Regions from separate parts of the Homo sapiens genome. Here region 2 is linked to region 1. The links are contacts of gene promoters, found by promoter capture Hi-C in blood cells and fetal thymus (Javierre and others, 2016). All regions are on one chromosome and are shown on one strand. The core of a region is centred on a gene start or on the middle of the fragment in contact, and the rest is flanking DNA. Distances in the headings are between cores, read along the strand shown. Region 1 holds the start of XIRP2-AS1 (XIRP2 antisense RNA 1). Region 2 overlaps LOC107985958 (a long non-coding RNA gene).

What was found. The method cuts DNA at HindIII sites, captures the fragments that hold promoters and counts their contacts. A CHiCAGO score of 5 or more calls a contact.
Region 2: a contact is called between a fragment that was not itself captured here and the fragment with the promoter of XIRP2-AS1 in region 1, in 1 of 17 cell types (M2 macrophages). The highest score is 5.1, in M2 macrophages.

The regions. Positions count from the first base shown.
Region 1 is chr2:167,135,843-167,142,513 of GRCh38, forward strand. XIRP2-AS1 (XIRP2 antisense RNA 1) reads right to left here and starts at 5,113. Exons shown (of 2, transcript NR_046665.1): 1 at 4,960-5,113. XIRP2 (xin actin binding repeat containing 2) reads left to right here. Exons shown (of 11, transcript NM_152381.6): 3 at 67-220. RefSeq lists an enhancer at 4,450-5,649. The HindIII fragment of the contact is 5,412 bases long and covers 1,785-6,671 here.
Region 2 is chr2:166,565,726-166,573,298 of GRCh38, forward strand. LOC107985958 (a long non-coding RNA gene) reads right to left here. Exons shown (of 4, transcript XR_001739762.1): 3 at 4,391-4,458; 4 at 3,192-4,040. Among named protein-coding and RNA genes, the nearest start is that of SCN7A, 75 kb to the left of the region's middle. The HindIII fragment of the contact is 2,021 bases long and covers 838-2,858 here.

The DNA of each region.
Region 1 (6,671 bases), core at 3,863-6,362:
CCTAAAAAACACATCTGTTTCCTACTGATAGCTTTTAACATACAACCCTTTAATGTCTTGTAACAGGAAGTGGAAATTGAGCGAAGTTTGTGCTCGCCAGCTTTTAAGAGTCACCCTGGGAGCCAGCTGGAGGATTCTGTGAAAGATTCAGACAAGAAAGGCAAGGAAACATCTTTTGACAAGATGTCACCTGAAAGTGGTCACAGCCGCATCTTTGAAGGTTAGCATAACATTTTGATATGCTTTCTTGACATCATACCTTGTACAACATGAGTGGTTAATAAATAAAATATATGAGGGGTTTGTTTAAAAATTAGTAAGGAAAATAATGACTGCATATAGTTTAGGAAATACAATTTAGGAAAAATAGAGGTGTTTATAAATGCTTCTATCCTTATTATATTTTAATTAGATTTTTAAAACTAAATAGAATATATTTTAATTGACTATAAACCAGTACAACAAGCATTTTCAGTATTAGAGGTTTGAAACAATGCACTTGACCATAATCTGACTTTAACTTTTGTGAAAATAAAAGGAAAACATACTTGTCTTTCTGTCTGTGGGTAACAAAAGAATAAACTAGGAGTAACTATCAGTAGCAAAATAAAAAAATAAATAAGATGCCTTAAGCATCTCCTTTTCAGACAATTAAACTAAACTTGCATAATGAATTTGGAATACAAAGTGACATAAGAGTGTTACATTTTAGACAGAACCTCATAAATTTGATTAATGCTTCACAAATATCATTAAAAAGTTAATAGCTCGTATGTTAGAAATCACACTATTAATATTATTTTCAACAATGACAGACATGAAAAATATAAATAACTTATTGGAAAATACAGATCTTATTTATCATTTCTGATTAGGCACATTCTGGATTTTTCCTCTTTAGCCAAATAATGTCTATTGTAGTATTTGTGGTGTTTGTTAAAGATCATAATTAGTACAAATTTTAAGATATCGTTTGGAATATTTGTAGCAAACTGTCAAGTCACCAGTCCATGTGAGCAATGTGGAAAGTCTTTGGAATATTACAGTTCACAGTTTGGGAAAGCAAATGGTACTCTGCTTTAAAACTTTGTTATTGAAAGTGCTGTTTGCGAATCAGCACGTCAGCATCACCTGGAGGCTTATTAGAAATGCAGAACCTTCGGCCTCACATCAGTTCTACTAAATCAGAATCTGCATTGTAACAGGATCCTCAAATGATTCATGTGCACATTAAAGTTTGAGAAGCTGTACACTGTGACAGAACAGACTGGTCTTCAGGGGAATTTACATATGGTTCAGCCCATTCTGATTCCGTTTGGTTTAAGGATGTAATTTGGAGTGGGAGGCAGGTGTAGGAACAGTCAAGGGGAGTTTGCTAATGATGGACTGGGCATGGATTTCTAAATACATGTAAATTGAGATTTCAATCTCTTTTTCACTTTCAATTCATTTTGGTATGCCCAATTAATATCCTAATATGATTAGTATCAGTCTTGAGGAATTTACTCCACATATTTCTGGCCTGTGATTAAACTTTATGTGCACTTGGCTGAATGCAAAAGAATTAGATTAGCAGAGGCCAAGGAAAAAGAAGCTTTAAGGAATGATTTATATTCTGATGATGCTTGCCTGTGGAGAGCTTAGCATAGGGAGGCAAAAATGAGTTTGGCAAACTGATCGAAGTTACATGAGATAATTAACTCCACTCATCACATCTTACTTCTCCTCATCTGTGTTTTCTTTGATTTCCATGCAAAGGTTTTCAAAGGCCTTTTTATGTTAAAAGCTTAGAAAAAGTATTCTGGAGTGTAACCACTATTTACTGTCAAGATATGACTGAAATTTAAAAGTAACCTCAAATACACATTTCCAGGTACATTGACAATAACAAGAAGTAAACTTCCAAACACAAGGTGGGAAAATTGCATCTGCAAGGTGGATGAACATAGCAGCAATTTTAATTTCATTTTATCTGTATATTGCACAAGAACTCTAATTCCTACGTAGCAATACATTTAAAAGAAACAAAATTCTTTCATTATGGGATCCTTTTCGTTCTTTCATGGGGCCCCAAATTTCTATCTCTGTTGGGACAAGAATGAACTATTTTAATACTTAATTTAGTTAACTTGGACAGCATGCAAGTTAAACTGGACAAAACCTACAAACCAAGAGCATTTTGATATTGCTGTTTTGCTGTAAATATTTATTTTATTCCAAAAAGATAAACACATGTTTCTAAATAAAGTGTGATAACTGAAAGATTTCAGAATTTATACAATTATATGAGTGACTGTGACAGCCTTATACATTAAACATCTTAACTAGCCGCAAGAGTTTCATATTGAGGCAGTATTTATTTGTAGTAATATGAAAAACAGTAGATTTTTAAAATTACACTTATAAAAGATAATTTAAGTGCAGCTACCTAATATCCTGCATATTTAAAATTTAGTAAACAGTGTGAATTGATAACTCCATTCCAGGACTGAGGACTAGCAATGCCTGTCAGTTTGGTTCCACTCCAATATCCTCAATGGCAGAACCAGAACAGCACAGAAAGGTGCTATGATTTTCCCCAGCCTCTCTTTTTATGCCTGATGATACACTCCCAGGTTCCCAGTTTGTGGACAATTGCTCTCACCACGTCTATTTTATTTGCTCCTTTTCCTCACTTATGTATTGGTGTCAAATAAACCATAGTGCTCCCGTGTGCATGTTGGTGCATTCCATTCACATTTTCTTGGAGATACACTCTAACAGTTGTTAAAATGATTCTAGGAAGACTTAGACCATATGTCATTAAATGTCAAGCATAGCAAATCCATAATTTGACAAATTTGGGTAATTTGATAATAGATGGGATATGAAAGAAAACAAATCAATCAGTGTAAATGATTTGATTAATTGTATTATACTAATATAAAAATCTGATTCGTTGGGCTGGGCACAGTGACTCATGCCTGTAATCCCAGCATTTTGGGAGGCCAAGGCGGGCGAATCACCTAGGGTCAGGAGTTTGAGACCAGCCCCGACCAACATGGTGAAACCCCATCTCTACTAAAAATACAAAAATTAGCTGGGCATGATAGTGGGTGCCTGTAATCTCAGCTACTCGGGAGGCTGAGGCAGGAGAATCACTTGAACCTGGCAGGTGGAGGCTTCAGTGAGCCGAGATGGCGCCACTGCACTCCAGGCTGGCCAACAGAGCGAGACTCTGTCTCAAAAAATATATATATATGCATATATATACGTACGTATATATATGCATATATATATATATGATTTGTTGAATTTCTTTTAGATATTTTAAGACCAGTAAGCTAGAAAGTGAATACTGGAAGTCTTAGGTACTGGTGTTTGATCTAGATGTATGTAGAATTGAAAAATATACTCTTCCTGCTGAAAAACTCTGGATCAAGGAATGCTTCAAATATCAGAATTGAATGGGTCATGTTCATCAGATTTATATGACTTGGAGTTTTTTAATATGACAATTGCCTGCCCTTCACTTTTATTCTCTAACTCATAATTTTAATTTTAATCTTCTAAGTCATCAACATGTAAAATGTCAAAAGATAAAATATATATTCAAAGTCACTTTTTCCAGGCTTTTGCAATAAACCTTGGAAATTACCTGCTGTATTTCTCTTTTTATTCTGCTCCATTAAAACTAAATTCATTCTTTATTCTTATAATGGCCATTCATCTCCTCTGACGGGTTTTACAAAACAAACTGAGACTTCTGTTCTTTCAGTTTTCTACTGCTCTTTACGTGAGGGGATCCTTCCAGTCATTAATGTTTCTAAAATACTGTAGTATGTATATGTATTTGTGTGATTGTCATTTACATATCTTATTTTTTGTTTAAAATCAGACATTTTAGAGTAATGACGTCCAATAGAAACTTCTGTGATAATGATAATAGAAGTGTCCTATATCTGTGCGGTCCAATATGGTAACCACTAGCCACATGTAGCTATTATGCAATTAAAAAGTAGCTAGTGCAACTGACCAACATAATTGCTAATTTCATTGAATTTTAAGTAATGTTCATGTAAATCGTCATGATATTGGAAGCTGACATTCGTCCAATGAGCTGTCTACCGTTTTCATAAGAGTTGATCCAGATGCTAATTATTCATTTTAAGTGATCCTCTATCTGCCAATTTACCTTTATTAAAATGTATGTGGATAAGGAGAAAGTTCATGTTGGCAAAATAGATAAAAGGCAAATAGCAATAATTCACATATTAAAAACTTGTCTTCGAGAACTAGGGATGATCTCCTCTCTTTAGTATTTTCTGGTGATAAAATTAAGAAAAATATAATTTCAACTGTGTTCCCTTTTCAATGTGCTGATAAAGCAATAGTTTTATCATAGAAACAGAAATACTACTGTGAGGCTTTGCATTCTTTTTTCCATAACATCTTTTCTAGAGCTTAATTGTCTTGGAAATATGAATCCCCTCAGGTCAGAAGCAAACCTTTGTCTAAATACCTAAGATTAACAAAGTTAAATGAAATGGTGCAACAGGCTACTTTAAAATTAACAGCACCATTTCTTTATTAAAACAGGGCTTCTTTGGAAACTTCGGAGTAAATCAGACATTTAGTCACAGAGTAGTTCCAGCTAACACCATCGACACCATTTGTTTTGCTCTGCCTGAACTGTCCCCTCTAACGAGACTCAGAGGACAGGCTTTTATAACTGGTCTCTGGATACACGATGGTGGACCCAGGACTCCCAGCACCGGCTTCTGCTTCCGGACTTGCTTCCCTACCTACTGTACCTTATTTCATGCCCCAAATAATGTTATTTTAGTTCATACAGGAGACATTTCATTAGGAAAAATATTGTCAGTGGATCACCATCTAAAACAATTCTGTGGTGATGGCCTTTGTAAAATAAAGAATCCATTTTTTGTATCAGTAATCATCTCTAATTGATCTGCTTACCCAATTAAGTGTTTCTCTTTCTTACAGTCAGATCCACCTGCAGATTTTTGATGACTCCCACATGTTCCTTTTAGTCACTATTACAGTCAGTGAGTCAAAACACATTCCAGAGTTAAGTCATGGCCCAGTAAGAAGGGGCAGCTGGGAGTTTGCTATTCTGAGGACTGTGTAATGAAAGGTCTATTCATGAGGTCGTTCACGTGGTAACTATAAATCAGCACCTTGGAATGCTGGAAAATTTCCAAAATCCCAGGAACTCATTTTGAGCTTGCACGCGGTCATATTTAATTTTAAAACATGAGGCCATTGAAGAAAGATAACAACAAATTTAAGTATACCTTTAAAAAATCATTCATTCACTTTACTACCCTGAAATTGGAAAAAACTAAATATTATTTTTAATATTCTGACTGTAGAATGTCAGAAATGTGTACATATTTCTACCAAATATTTTTGATGTGCTGTTTTCATTTGCCCATTCATCTGTTCATTCATCAAACAAATAAGTATTGAGTGCCTATTTGTGGCAGGAACTATTCTAGGTGCTTGGAGACATCAATGAATGAAAGACAAAAAGAAAAAGAAAAAATCCTGCCCATGGAGCATATTTTCTAACAGGAGATCATACATTGGATGAAAAAATAATGAAGAAGTAAATGGTATATCGGAAGACAGCAAGTGCTATAGAAAACATAGGCCAGGATAGTGGGAATGGTGCATGATGGAAATTCCTAATTTTAATTAGGATGATGAGAATCAGCCACACGGGAAGGTGACATTTAAACTAAGACTTGAATAAGTAAATATTCTCAGTGCTTTGGGAGGCCAAGGAAGGAGGATTGCTTGAGGTCAAGAGTTCAAGACCAGCTTGGGCAACATAGCAACACTCCATCTCTACAAAAAATAAAAAATTAGCTGGGCTTGCGGCACATACCTGTAGACCCAGCTACCAGGGAGGCTGAGGCAGGAGGATCCCTTGAGTCCTGGAGTTCAAGGTTACAGTTAGCTAAGATCATGCCACTGCACTCCAGCCTGGGTGACAGAGCAAGACCCTGTCTCAAAAATAAAATATAGAAAAGAAAATATACATAGTTATATTTTGTTAAAGGCAAATGTATCTCCTAAGGTTTGAGGCAGAATATTCTCTGAATGATCCCAGGCCCCCTAGTTGGAGCAACTATATTGCTGATTTTTTGCAGTCACTTGAAGATAGAGGAAACATACCGCAGTAAAATCCTCATATCTTGCCACTGTCACCAATGGGAAGTGTGTGGAATCACTCCTACCCTGGTTTATCAGTCTGCACCTTGTGGATTTCTGATATTGTTCTATTCTGTTCTACAGGGAATAGGCCAAGAAAGGAGAGCAGAGGGCAAAAAGTTCAGGTAGAACCGCAGGGCTGACTGAGGGCTTGGAGCCCACACATGAGAGCCAAACCAGGAATTAGTTATTATAAGAAAGGTACAGGCCGGGCACAATGGCTCACGCTTATAATCCCAAAACTTTGGGAGGCCAAGGTGGGCAGATCATGAAGTCAGGAGTTTGAGACCAGCCTGGCCAACATGGTGAAACCCCGTCTCTACTAAAAATACAAAAATTAGCTGGGCATAGTGGCATGCACCTGTCGTCCCAGCTACTCGGGAGGCTGAGGCAGGAAAATGGCTTGAACCCGGGAGGTGGAGGTTGCAGTGAGCTGAGATCATGCCACTGCA
Region 2 (7,573 bases), core at 598-3,097, 570 kb before region 1:
ACAACAAACACTGCAAAGCAAATAAAAAAGTTTATTGCCATGAAAAAGGTCAACATACCCTTGAGTAGAAAAATTATACATGGAAAAAACATTCAGAGTATTAAAGTAATTTGAGGCCACTTTAAAGTGAATTCGTTTAAAATTTTCAAAAGGCATCTATAAAATGGCCAAGAGATTGTAAACTAATAGATGAACATGTAAAAAGAGCTAAGAATATGTTAGAAAATTAGAATCCTTTACATTTAAAAATCAATAAATAAGTAGTAAATTAAACATAGCTGAATAAAGAATTAGTACATTTGATAATACATTTAGGTACAAATAAATGGAAAGATACTCAGTTTCCATGGATTGGAAGAAGGTCCATACTACTCAAAGAAGTCTATAGATCCAAAGCAAAATTCCAATGACATTTTTTCAGAAATGGAAGAAACAATCCTAAAATGTGTACAAAGCCATGAAAGGTTAGGAATACCTGAAGAAATCTTGAGCAAAAGAACAAGCTGGAGGCATCACACTACCTAATATCAGAATCAGTTACAAGCTGTAATAATCAAAACAGCAAGGTACTGGCACAAAACCAGACATATAGACCAATGAAACAGAATAGAGGCTCCAGAAATAAATCTATGCAATTCTCTTTTGATAATGATATTAAAAATACATATTGGAGAAAAGATAAAATTTTTAAAAGTGGTATTGGGAAAACTGGATGTGAAGAAAAAGAAAATTAGACCCTTATCTCATACCATATTAAAAAAATCAATGGAAAATGAATTAAGGACTAAAATTTAAGGTCTGAAACTGTAAAATAACTGGAAGAAAACACATAGGAAAAGCTTTATGACATTGGTCTAAGCAATGAGTTTTTGGCAATGACCATAAAAGCCCAGGCAACAAAATCAAAAATAGAAAAATGAAATTACATCAAACTAAAAACCTTTTTCACTGCCAAGGAAACAATCAACAGAATGCAGAGACAACTTAAAAAAATGGACAATATTTATAAACCATATTTCTAATAAGGGGTTAATATCCAAAATGTGTAAGGAATTCAAACAACTGAATAGCAAACAAACAAACAACAACAAAAAAAAAACACTTAAAAATGCGCAAAGGTTGTGAGTAGACATTTCTCCAAAGAAGACATGTAAATAGCCAACAAATATATAGAAAGATGCACGACCTCACTAATCATCAAGGAAATGCAATTAAAACCAAAATAAGATATCACGTCACACCTGTTAGAATGGCTATTCTCAAATAGAGAAAAGATAACAACTGTTTTGTGAGGGTACAGAGAGAAGAGAATCCTTATACATTGTTGGTAGAAATGTAAATTAGCATAGCCATTATGGAAAACAGTATGGAGATTTCTCAAAAAATTAAAAATAGAACTACCTGATGATTCAGCAAGCCCACTAGTGGGTATGTATCCAAAAGAAATGAAATCAGTATGTCAAAGAGATATCTGCACTTCCATGTTCATTGCAGCCTTATCCTCAATTGCCATGATATGGGATCAACCTAATTGTTGTCCTTCAGCAAATGAATGGATAAAGAAAATGCGGTATATACACACAATGAAATACTATTCTACCCTAAAAAAAGAAGGAAATCCTGTTATTCTCGAAAACATAGATGAACCTAGAGGAAATTATGCTAATTGAAATAAACCAGACACAGAAACAAATACCACATCCTCTCACTTATACGTGAAATCTAAAAAGGTGAAACTCACAGAAGCAGAGAATAGAATGGTGGTTACCAGGTTTTGGGGGTTAGGAGATGGAGACTAGGGAGGTCTTGGTCAAAAGATACAAAATTTCAGTTAGACAGGAAAAATAAGTTTAAGAGATCGACTATGCAACATGGCCACTATAGCTAATAATATATTGTGTACTTAAAAATTGCTGAGATAGGTTTTAACTGCTTTTATCCCAAAAAAACAAGTGTATGAGATGGTGTGTATGTTAAATAGCTTGATTTTTGCTATTCTATAACGTATGCATGTTTTAAAACATCACGCTGTATACCATAAATATATATAATTTTAAATTATCAATTAAAATAAATACATAAAATCATGTAAATTTCCAGAGTGTAACAAAATTAGGACATATGAAAGAGAAATTAGTTGTATCAAGAAACAGCAGCATATAATAAACTTCAAAGAATAGGATAATAGAAAGGATGAGAAGGTGATAATCAAAGAGATAATGGCTCAGAATTTTTCAAAATTGAGAAAGAAGTGGCGAAAATTTGACAAAGCCCATTAGGTGCTAAGCAACATTAATAAAAATGAATCTACAATCAGCATACAAAAATAATGAAACATATTGAAAATATTTAAAAGTGAATATACAGATTTTCTATGGAGAAATAACAAGCATATTAAAAGCAGAGTTTATCTCAGCAACAATTTATCTTCGAAGACAATGGAATAATATCTTCAAAGTGTTGAGGGGAAAATGTCTTTAAATGTTGAGCTCTGTGTCCAAAGTGTTTATTAAGGCATTTCACACACATACAATAATCAAAACAGCTCACCACTATCAAGACAGAATAAAATAAGACCTCTCTATACAAAGAAAACAAAAGTGACAGCAAAGTTAGTCTTCTTTAAACAAATAATCTCTTTTAAATAAAAAGAAAAGCTACAGTGTAAATCATTAAGATCTACAGCATTTCTATTGATCTAGAAACTATGCTGTGAATTATTTCTTTTCACTACTAACAGAAGGTAGACATTGGGAATATTTACAACACAGGGTGTTAAGCAAAACTCTGTCTTCCCACTTATCAAGTTAAAACAGATCTTAAGACATGGAAAGTGTTCTGCATGATTGAAAGTAACAAGCTTCCTGTGCTACGTTTTCTTGACATTTAATGTTCATGATAAGAACTCGCTGCGGAAGATGAAAACATTCTGGAAATGGATAGTGGTGATGTTAATGTACTCAATGCCACTGAACTACACACATTAAAATAATAAGTTTTGCATTATGTATATTTTACTACAATAAAAAAGTTTCCAATAAAAAAGGAACTCTCAACATTTTATTTTTTATTACTAGATAAATGTGAAATTTATGTTTGTTAACATCATAAAACATTTAGAAAAGTATAAATCAGAATATGTGGCTCATTTTTAATGTAACATTGGTTCATTAATTAAATTTATTGTAAATATTCCAGATTTCACTGAAATTTAAATTAAAACCACATTACTGGAGTTTAAGACATATGTGTGGCTGCATTTCTTTTACAAGAGCTATCATTTTTCTTTTCCTTTGTATTATAAAGATTCCAATATGATTTATGTTATTTGTAACAATAGCTAAGAATATTGTATTCTCTTGCAGAAGTCTAAAAAAAAGCTTAAATAAAATTAACATATGTCTTAAGTGTTTGTTCTTCAATCTACCCACGGACTGTCATCGACAAGTTATTAAATGAAAAAGAAAAATAACTCCAGGCAAAAGAAGTGGGATTCTTGAGACAATGGTGAGAAAAAGATCATAAAATATATTGATAAACTTAATTAAAGGACTCTAAAATAAAAAATATGTGTGTACATATTTGGGACAAATATGTATTTGTTTGGGACAAAATGTGAGAGTTCAAAAAAGATTAAAGTTTGTTAAGATCCCTTTCTTCAGAAAAGAAATGTATATGCAGATTTACTTTAGAATGTATTACTATTACTGTATATTAATTAAATTTGGCTGTTTATTATTGGTAACTATTAGAAGAACAGAAAAAAATCTAACCTATATCTTTGCATATGTTAGAAATATATCAATTTTTAAATATTCTTGTATAAAATATGTATTATTCATGTATATGTTTATGTTAAAATACAAAATATTATCCAGAAACATGCACACCAAACTCACCATAGGTTGTCTCTGAAGTGGGTGCTATCAGAAAGGGTTGGTGATAGGGCTTGAAGAGAATGCTTCCTCTTACACAGTAGGGCCTTCAGTCACCTCGTTATTTTAGAATAGGGTAAAGTACCATGAACACTTCTTTCCAGCCTGTAGGTGAGGTGGGGAAAGGAAGGAGTTAAAGGGAGGATAGCAAAAAGCCATTAGACTTGCACCTCCTGGATTTTCATCTCCAGGTTTCCACTGTTTGTTGCAGGTCAGGGGAGACAGGGTTACATCAAGCAAAATTAGGTAAGTTGAGAGCAGGGGCTAGCCTATTACTCCAGGTTGATCTATCAAGTCTCAGGTGAGACTCTTTCGAGAGTTGCCTAGTACTAGCTTGGAGCATGATAATAACAAAAGGAACTTGGTAGGCCTTCTTAACTGGGCTGCAGCTGATCTTGACGTTTTTACTTTCCTACTTGGCTCTCCATTCCCATGTGGTGTGAGCTCTGACTTACATGCAGTGGGGCTGCCGTGACAAATCAACGTGACCCCAGAGCTGAGGCTGGGACAAAGGATACAGCTTCTGTTGGGGAAGTAAAATGAGACAACAAATCAGAAAAATACTTTGGCATTTAAAATAAAAATTAAACACATGCCTACCATATCATCCAAATCATTAGGTATCTGCCCCAAACAAATGAAAGCATACATCAACAGAAAGACACATACAGAATATTAATAGCAACTTTATTTGTAATAGCCAAACTTGAAAACAGCCCAAATGTCTATTAATCAATGAATAGTTAAACAAACTGTAGAATATTAACAATAACGAGAAAAATTATTGGACATTCATCCACTTAAATGGGTCTTAAAACAATAGTGACAAGTGTAAGAAACCAGATTTTAAAAAAGAGTGCAAATATATTCTTAAATTTATATATAATTCTAGAAATTGAAAAACAATCTATAGTGAGAGAAGGAAAATAAATGTTTTCCTGTGAAATTGGTGGGAAATGTCATGAGGGATGGATCTCAAAGGGCAAAAGGAAACTTGGAGATAGAAGAATTTATTATTTTGACTATGGTAATAGTAACTTGGGGTTGTACAAATGTCACAACTTTATCAAATTTTATAGTTAAATATGTACAGTTTATTATACATCAATTATATCTTCATAAGGCTGCAAAAGTATTTTTAATGAGCCAAACCCTCAGCAAAAGATAACTGAAATTTTGAGCACTGCAGATATAAGAAAGTACACTACACTTCTAGCCTCCAATGAGAAAATGTATTCCCTTTGTTTTTCTTTTATAATTCTTTTCTTGGGTGAACCTAAGTACCATCATAATGTGTATACCATCTATATTTAAAATACAACATAATTATGCTAATACAAAAATTAATCATATCAAACATTAATCAGTGGCAATAACTAGAGTTGATGAGTATTTGAAGAAATGGCTACTCTCATCCAATGCTGATGGTAATAACCTAGTAGAAAAAATAATGACAACACTGATCACAATTCTAGAATTCTACATTGTTGTTAACTGACTTTTGAGGTTAGACTTATGAAATTATTTTTATTTTTTATTTTTTTGAGAGGGAGTCTCATTCTTGTTGATCAGGCTGGAGTGCAATGGCACGATCTTGGCTCACTGCAACCTCCACCTATCGGGTTCAAGTGATTTTCCTGCCTCAGCCTCCCAAGCAGCTGGGAATACAGGTGCCCGCCACCAAGCTAGGCTATTTTTTTGTATTTTTAGTAGAGATGGGGTTTCACCAGGTTGGCCAGGCTGATCTCGAATTTCTGACCTCAGGTGATCCACCCACCTCGGCCTCCCAAAATGCTGGGATTACAGGCATGAGCCACTGCGCCCAGCCAACTAATGAAATAATTGTAGATGTTCATTGTAATTAAATACAAGAATGTCCATATCATTTTGTACACACTAGTAAAATGCTGGGGGAAAATTCCATAACATAGATGGTCATTTATATGGCATTTTAAATAAATTACATACACAGTGAAATAATATACAGACAGAAAAAATAGTATTGTAGAAAAATATATAATTATTGTCCATTTCTGTGAATGTTTCCTAACACTAGTAAAAAGTATACATAAAAGTATATTTTTTCAGACTTGTTCATAATTATAAAATTTAGATACACCCTACATTTACAAGAATAGTAAAAGAAATATTGTTACAGTCAGACCATGGAATGCCAAGTCACAACTAAAAGAAAAGCAGTTTATCATCTACATTTGTACCGACTTGGAAAGATGCCCATGATGTAAAACAATACCCACACACAAACACATGAGCACATCATTCCCAAAATATTATGTATGATCCTATGATTCTATTTTACAAATGTGTGTGTATGTATCAAAGTAAGGGAAAGAGAAAGGAGACGGCTCCTATACTCACAGAAGTACATGTTGTAAACTGTTAATATTATCCCTGGGACTGGCTAGGTTTGGGCAAGTTTAGAGAGGTGTAAGAAATTTCACTTTTAACTTCACTCATTTAGGTTAAGTTTGAAAACTTTTATAAAATACATGTTATTTATGATTTAAAACACAAGGAAATTAATTGGTAAAGAAGATAGCACTAGTCATGCTATTTTTTATATAGAAAATCCACTAAACTAAATATAACATTATGGTTTTGTTTTTGTTTTGTTTTTTTGGGGGGAGTGGGAGATCCTATGTTTCCCAGGCTGGTATCAAACTCCTAGGCTTAAGTAATCTTCCTGCCTTAGCCTTCTGAGTAGCTGGGATTATAGGTGCCCACCACCATGCCCAGAAAAACATTATGTATTGTATGACTTCATTTCTGAAAATTATATTTGCATATATCTTACTCATCTTTTACTAGATTATCATACATTAACACAATCTCTATGAGTAGCAATAATTGTGTTTGATGACTGGTCAAGGTGGTTTTAATTTCAGAACCCAGTAGGAAAGTGAGCCCACATGTGGGATATGTTCCTCTCTTGGTAGACGAGTATGCAGAATTGCTGGTAGAAACAAGTAAGGCTCTTCAAGCTTCTGCTCAAAACCAGCATGAATCTTTTCTGCTCATATTTTATTAGTCAAAACAGGTCAGTCGCCAAGCCTGACAATGGAGCAAGAAAGTGCTCTCTGCCCATAGTTAGAAACTTTAAGTAACAGGGCAATTAATGAAAAAACAGAATCATCTTATTGGAAGGCATATATTAAACACTTCAAACAATAAAACAACATACCACAGTTTAAAAAATATTGTGAAAAGAACTAGCATAAAATGTTGGCATAGGCTATCTATCTCTGGATCATGAAATAGATCATATTTCAGTTTTTTATTTTGTTCACCTTTATTTGTTAAAATTTTCTACAATTAGCATGCATTTTTCTTGAGACAAGTCAGTTTCCCTGACTACCTCAATGAAATTAACTTCCCACTAACACCTCATTCTCTATGCCCTTCACATGCTTTATTTCTCTTCATAGTACTTACATCATCTGACATGCTCATTTTTTTCAGTCATGTGTTTGTTTATTCTATACTTTTCCAGCTAGAATTTAAGCTGCATGAATGTGGAGAATTTCTCTGCTTTGTTCATTTCTCCACTCAGAGTAGTTTCTGGCATATAACAGACACTCAATAAATATTTCCAAATCAAAGAAAAATAGTAATAAAGG